Linked DNA regions of Homo sapiens: region 1 is linked to region 2. The links are contacts of gene promoters, found by promoter capture Hi-C in blood cells and fetal thymus (Javierre and others, 2016). All regions are on one chromosome and are shown on one strand. Each heading gives the region's core, a stretch centred on a gene start or on the middle of the fragment in contact. The rest is flanking DNA. Distances are from core to core; before and after follow the strand shown.

The links. The method cuts DNA at HindIII sites, captures the fragments that hold promoters and counts their contacts. A CHiCAGO score of 5 or more calls a contact.
Region 1: a contact is called between a fragment that was not itself captured here and the fragment with the promoter of EGR3 in region 2, in 1 of 17 cell types (M0 macrophages). The highest score is 5.8, in M0 macrophages.

The regions. Positions count from the first base shown.
Region 1 is chr8:22,756,140-22,759,266 of GRCh38, reverse strand. All of the region lies in intron 4 of PEBP4 (phosphatidylethanolamine binding protein 4), which reads left to right. LOC107986925 (a long non-coding RNA gene) reads right to left here. Exons shown (of 3, transcript XR_007060852.1): 3 at 875-2,303. Among named protein-coding and RNA genes, the nearest start is that of EGR3, 64 kb to the right of the region's middle. The HindIII fragment of the contact is 4,907 bases long and covers 1-3,127 here.
Region 2 is chr8:22,692,080-22,695,022 of GRCh38, reverse strand. It overlaps EGR3 (early growth response 3), which reads left to right and starts at 1,543. Exons shown (of 2, transcript NM_004430.3): 1 at 1,543-2,232. The coding sequence starts at 2,079. It overlaps LOC105379321 (a long non-coding RNA gene), which reads right to left and starts at 166. Exons shown (of 3, transcript XR_001745832.2): 1 at 1-166. RefSeq lists silencers at 1-121, 252-471, 1,354-1,517, 1,462-1,581, 2,444-2,513 and 1 more and enhancers at 582-681, 722-831, 664-1,309. The HindIII fragment of the contact is 8,376 bases long and covers 1-2,943 here.

The DNA of each region.
Region 1 (3,127 bases), core at 358-2,857, 64 kb before region 2:
CTGGGCCTCCCTGGGCCTCCGTCTATGCGGGGTCTCTTCTAGCCTCAAAGACTCCCAGCCCCCACCCCTGACAGCAACAAAGTCAGTGTTGGGGCCCAGGTCTGCAGCGCCTCACGTCTACCCCCACCTTTCCCTGAGCCCACCAGACTGCTGTGGCCACTCTAGCCACCTGGGATCACTCCCCCAAGGCCAGCAGAGCCCATCACAGCTGCCCAAAACAGGTAAACAGCTGTTTCCCATGGCCCTCCTCCCACCCTCGCCCCCTCCCTGCAGATGGTCCTCCCCTCCCCTGGCTTCCACTTCTCCATGCTCTGCCAGTGTGCACTGACCAGCTCCTGACATAAGCCCCGGACTTCACTCCTCTTTCTGTCATGAAACCCCAGCCTGGGGGCCTCTCCCTTCCAAGGCAAGGCATTGGCTCCCTGATAAAATATCCCAAGCCCTAGGAAAGCGCTGTCCACCCCACCATACTGCGGACAGGGTGGGCCACCCCTGGACCCTGCATTCTCATGCTTGTTGGACAGAAGCAATGACATCAGCTCCCATCTGCTGAGAGCCTGCTATGGGGTACATGTTATTCTCATGATAGCCCCTGAAGTAGGCATCATTAGAATCATAGGGCAGACCATTAAACTAACTCCGGGGCAGGCCAAGTGAGTGGCCTAACAGCATACAGCCAGGCAAGTGCAAAACTGGGCTGCGGGCTTTTCTGTCCATTTCCAAACTCCCACCCACCCACTTTCTACCAGGTAAACCGGCCCCCTGCAAACGACAGCCCACAGGCCAAATCAACCTATTTTTGTAGGGCCTGTGAGCTGAGAAAGGTTTTTGCATTTTCAAAGGGTTATAAGAAAAGAAACAAACAAAGAACATGTGACCAAAACCATATGTGGCCCACCAGGCCTCAAATATTTACTACCTGGGCCTTTCCAGAAAGTTTGCCGAACCACGGGGCCACCCAGGAACATTCAGTACCAGGCACTGGGTACCACAGACACGAAGTGAAAGGGTCACCGGAGGGAAGATGGATGGATGCTCAGGCCATCCTTCTATGTGACCCACCAGCTTCAAAATCATTTTCAAAATAGCGTTTAGTAGAGATGAAATCAGGCTACAGAGAACACCAGGAGTTTCTTTGCAGGCTTCACAGCTTATGATGAAATATTTCACACACAATGTCTCTTTCATGGAGTTAGAGTCCCCATTTTTTGAATGAAAAATGGAAAAGCTGAGAGCTAAAATGACTAACTTAGGGGCCCCTGGTGAATATCCTCCCCAGGTCCCATGACCTCAAGGCCAGTGTTCTTTTCATCGCACCTGCGGCTGCTCTGGCCCCCAGGGCATCCGGCCAGGGAAGCTGGGCACAGAGAGACCAAGAGCAGCCCAGGCAGGGCTGCAGGTGGCCGGGTAGGAGGTGGAGCCACTGCGGTGACCACTCCTCCCAGGCCACCCTGCTCTTCTCATACGGATTGAATTTATATGCATCTCGGATTTCTGTTTTCAGCACAGGCCCAACTCTCTTGGAGCTGTTTCAGCCACTGAGTCCCAGTACCCCAAGAGGAGTACCCCAATTGCTGCATCTTAGGGGTGATTCTAGCTCACATCCAGGAGGCTAAATAACTGTCCCCGAGGGCAGGGAAGCCTGATTTCCAGTTGCAGCTCTCCCGCTAGCTGGCTGGATGACCCAGGGTGGGCCAGCATCCCTCTCTGGGCCTCCCTTTCCTCCCTAGGAAGCAGAGTTAACGATCCCCACCCTGTCCTTCACCCCTATGGGACTCTGGGAGAGGGAATGAGGTCATGTCTGTGAGCTGCCTGGAGGAAGGAAGCGGCAGGGGGAGTACAAGGTAGTATTATCTTCTGGGTCGAGCTGGGCAGTTGCCATGAAGTTGCTGAAATGTGTAAGCATTCCAACGACCTCGGGAACCTGTCGTGGGAATGTCATGGGAAGGCAGTGTGTCAGAACTGGCTTGGGCCTCCGAGTCACCGTGGTGTGAGTACAAACCCCAGCTCAGCTACTTCTCAGCTTTGGCAAACCACCCAATGGCTTTCAGCCTCAGTTTTCTCACCTATAAAAAGAGAATAATCCCAACCACAGTTTGGTTGTTTGGTTAAGGATTTTAAAAGATGAACCCTGGCATATGGTGAGCACTCATGATGACGACTGCTGTGGACCTGTTGTCTTGTCAGGACACCTCTTTGTGTTTCTCCATGAACTGTCTCCAGATAAATGCAAACGTCCTCCACCTGTGCCCTTTCAGGGAGAGCCTTCTGCAGTGGGGATAGCTGGGCGTTCTGAGAGCTTCCTTTTGAAAAAGAAAAATTAGAACTGAGGCAATGAACACAGGCCTTTTCCCCAGCATCATCCAGGGAACCTGCGACCCACAGGGCCAGGGGTCCTAGGTCCAGAGACTGAGGGAGGTCAGGTACTCCCTGGGTCCCTTTCCCCTGGTAAATGGTGGAGTTTGGCCACCACGATTTCCGAACTCAACAGTCCCAGCCTTGGCAAGCCGAAATTCCCAGCCTGCCAGCAACCACTTTCTTCTCCCTTACCCAGGAGCAAAAGAAGGGCCTCAATGAGCCCCCAGGCAAGTGGGTTTTTGTACAGACAGAAATGGACAATCTGCTCCTGGCATCTTTTTAAGGCAGGAAGGGATGCAAAGATTGGGGGCTGGACGCATCTAGAAAAGGCTTGCTTCCCCAAGCATCCCCAGTCCACGTGGGGAGGAGCATGGGACAGTGGTGGAGGTTGGTGGGGCTGGGGCCAGGGCCAGGGAGGAAGCGGAGAGATGCATCCAGCAGAGGGTGTGAGAATCAGCCACAACTGGCCGAGACTGTCGGAATTAGTCACCAGTGTTGACGAGGAGTTCAGTCGGTTACATAACAGCCTCCCTCGCTCACTGTTAGCTCTCCTGAGCTGGGGCTGTCCGGGGTTAAGGGTCTCTGGCAGGGAGGGTCACATCCTGGGAGCCCAGGGGCAGAGGTTCTCGCACAAGCCCGCCCTCCCCAGTCCTGCTCCAGCCCTGCGAGGCCAGAAGGAGGCGCCAGCTGTTCAGCTCCTGCCTGAGTCTTGCCACCTTGTCTCCAGACCATCCCACGCTAGCCTCGCAAGGCTGTCGCTCTGGCCTGA
Region 2 (2,943 bases), core at 294-2,793:
GCCCTCCGGTCCCCAGCCCTCCACTGAGTGGAGGGGAGGGGAGGGGAGCGAGGTTGTCATCCACCTCCACCACAACGTGCAGCTCGGGAGTTCCTCCCACACGTCCCCGGCCCGCGTGGCCCTCCCACGGCGTGAGGCCCGGGGATCCTCTCTTCTTCCTTGTCAACACTCCCACTCCCCCCGAGAAATGCACGTTCCCCCAACCCCGACTCCCCAGGAGGGGACGAGGGATTCACCGCGCCCACGCGGCCACCGAGGAGGGAATCCTCCCCCGCCAAGCCGATGTGATTTGGGGTCGCACCCCCATGCTCCCGCCCTCTCCTCCCCCTCGCCCGCGGGCCGGCTGCGCGCGCCTCGGGAGCAGGCCCCAGGGAGCACAGCAGCCGCCCCCGGGATCTGCTGCCGCTCCGGGAGGTGAAAGCGCTCCGGGTCGGCACACAGGCCGCCCTTGACTGCGGAGCGCCGGCAGGCAGCAATGGGGACAGCCCTGTGGAAGGCGAGGGGGAGGGCAGAGACTAGGGGAGGCCCCCAGTGGCTCAGAGACTGTGGGTTCGGCGTCCTCCTTCTGGAACTCTGGCGGGCCCTTCGCAGGCAGCAGTAGACAGCGACTGCGCCCGGGCCTGCTGGGCCCTCCTGCCATCCTGTGGCCACAGAGGCTGCTTGGAACCGTTAGGGAATTTACTGGGGATTCAGTGCACGTGTTTATCTATCCCTTCAACTTCATTCTTTCCTCTTCACCACGAAAACCGCACATCCTCGACCCCATATGGATGGGGCTCTTGTCTTTGGCGCAACTGCTGGGGTGCTCCGAATCTCCTCGCCACTGCGCTCAGCCTAGAGTCAGCGCCGGGTCAGGGGCCCAGGGAGGGGCAGGGGCGGCGAATCAGAGTGAAGTTGGCACAAAAGTTCTTGGGATATTGGACCAAGGAATTCTGACAAGTTGAAACACCCCCCCAACCCTGCGCGCACCCCTCCTTCCCCCCACAAAGGGAAGCACTCCCTTTCTCTTAATCTCGGATAGGATCCCGAACGCTGGAGCCGCTGAGGTAGCAGGGGCGCAACGCACGCCTTCCGGGTTCCCCAGCAGTTCCCGGGCTGCAAAGGGATTTCGCCAGATGTTTTCAACTCTCTTTCTAACTGCTGGGGTGTTGGAGACCACTTGCAAACAACCCCACCCCACCGCCCACCTCTCCCCAATGCGCTCTCCTAACGCAAACCTCAAATAAACACACACAATGAGTTACTGGTGTTTCGACTCCACGCTACGCGCTTTGCGCTTTGCATGCAGCTGTATCCTTCTTTCCTCTCTCTTCTCGCATTCTTCTTGTTTCTTCTCCCCTTCTCTTTTTTTCAAGAGCCGCGAGCGGTGCGGGCGCCGCACGTTGGCTGCGGCCCGCTTCCTGCTTTCTAATGTTCCATTGTGAGGAGCTTCCATTGTGACGTCGCGCCCCTTCGGCTGGGCTTTGTCTGTCCATATATGGGCAGCTACGTCACGGAGCTTTCCCGGGGCTCAGATAAATAGGCTGGTGGAGTTCCCTGGCTGGGAGCTTTTGGGCAGCAGTGAGCTTGCTAGGAAGCGGCGGGGCTGGTGGTGGTGGTAGCAGCGGCGGCAGCGGCGGCAGAGGCGGCGGCGGCGGCGGCGGCGGCGGCGGCGGTGGCGGTGGCGGTGGCGGTGGCAGATCGGGGGGCGGGGGGGCGGCGGGCGCGTGTCTGTTTGTGAGATCAATACTGAGGCCGCGTCCGACCCCCTTGAGCCGAGATCCCCCCCCAGCCCAGCCCCCACCCCACCCCCCGCACACGCCCCACCCCCCCCACGACCCAGCCTCATACCGCACCAGCTGAGGCACCCAAGAGGATTACCCCCTGGGGCCCTCTCCCGCCCCCCAAAAAAGAGAAGATCCCCTCTCCTGGCCCATCCCTTCCCTTCTTCCCTCCCCCCTCCCCCCGAACTTTCCCTCTCGCATGCTTTTCCCCTGCACCACGGATCGCCTCTCGGATGCCGCTTGCCTGGAAGCTGCGTTAGGAGCGAGCGGCGGCGGTGGCGGCGGTGGCGGCGGCGGCGGCAGCTCGGGAGTGCTATGACCGGCAAACTCGCCGAGAAGCTGCCGGTGACCATGAGCAGTTTGCTAAACCAACTGCCTGACAATCTGTACCCCGAGGAGATCCCCAGCGCGCTCAACCTCTTCTCCGGCAGCAGCGACTCGGTAGTCCATTACAATCAGATGGCTACAGGTAAGGGCGGCGGGGAGGCGGCGAGGCAGCGAGGAAGGAAGGGGAGAGGAAGAGGAGGAGGGGACGACCTGGTGATGGATGGATGGATGGATGGATGGATGGATGGATGGATGGGTGGATGGGTGGATAGATAAATGGATGGAGAGATGGGGGCGCGCTGGGAATTTTGCGGGGGGCGAGTTGCTTTTCCCACCCACTCCTCCCGCCCTCCTCGATCGAGAAGGCTAGGTTGGCGACGCCACGGTAGAGGCTTCGGTTCTCCCGGGTGGGGGCAGCCGCCGACCGGAGGGAGGTAGGTGCGAGCGGCTCTGGGGTTCTCCCTCACCACGCAGGGGGCCCGATCGCCGGGCTACGCGCAAGGCGTGGTGCTGTCGCCCTCTTCCCGGGAGGAGCCCGGCGTCTTTTTCACCCGCGCTCTCCCCCCTTACTCCCTCAGCCTCCCACCCGGGATGGAGCCATGTGCGGCGTGGAGTCCCCGCGGTGGGAGAGGTACTGCGACGCTGCCTTTCCGGGGCGTTCAGCAAAGCCGTGGGGGTGTGGGGACGGCGGGGAGAAGGAGGGGGTTCACCCGCGGGGCGAGGGCCTGCCACGGGGAACGATCCCGGGGCCGGGGAGCTGGGGAAGGGCGGCCTCTCCCGCCATGGAGACACCGGCCGGTTTTCCGCCGCTCTCCACCCTCCCTAGCTGGGGCTAGGATTTTCCCCTCCAGCA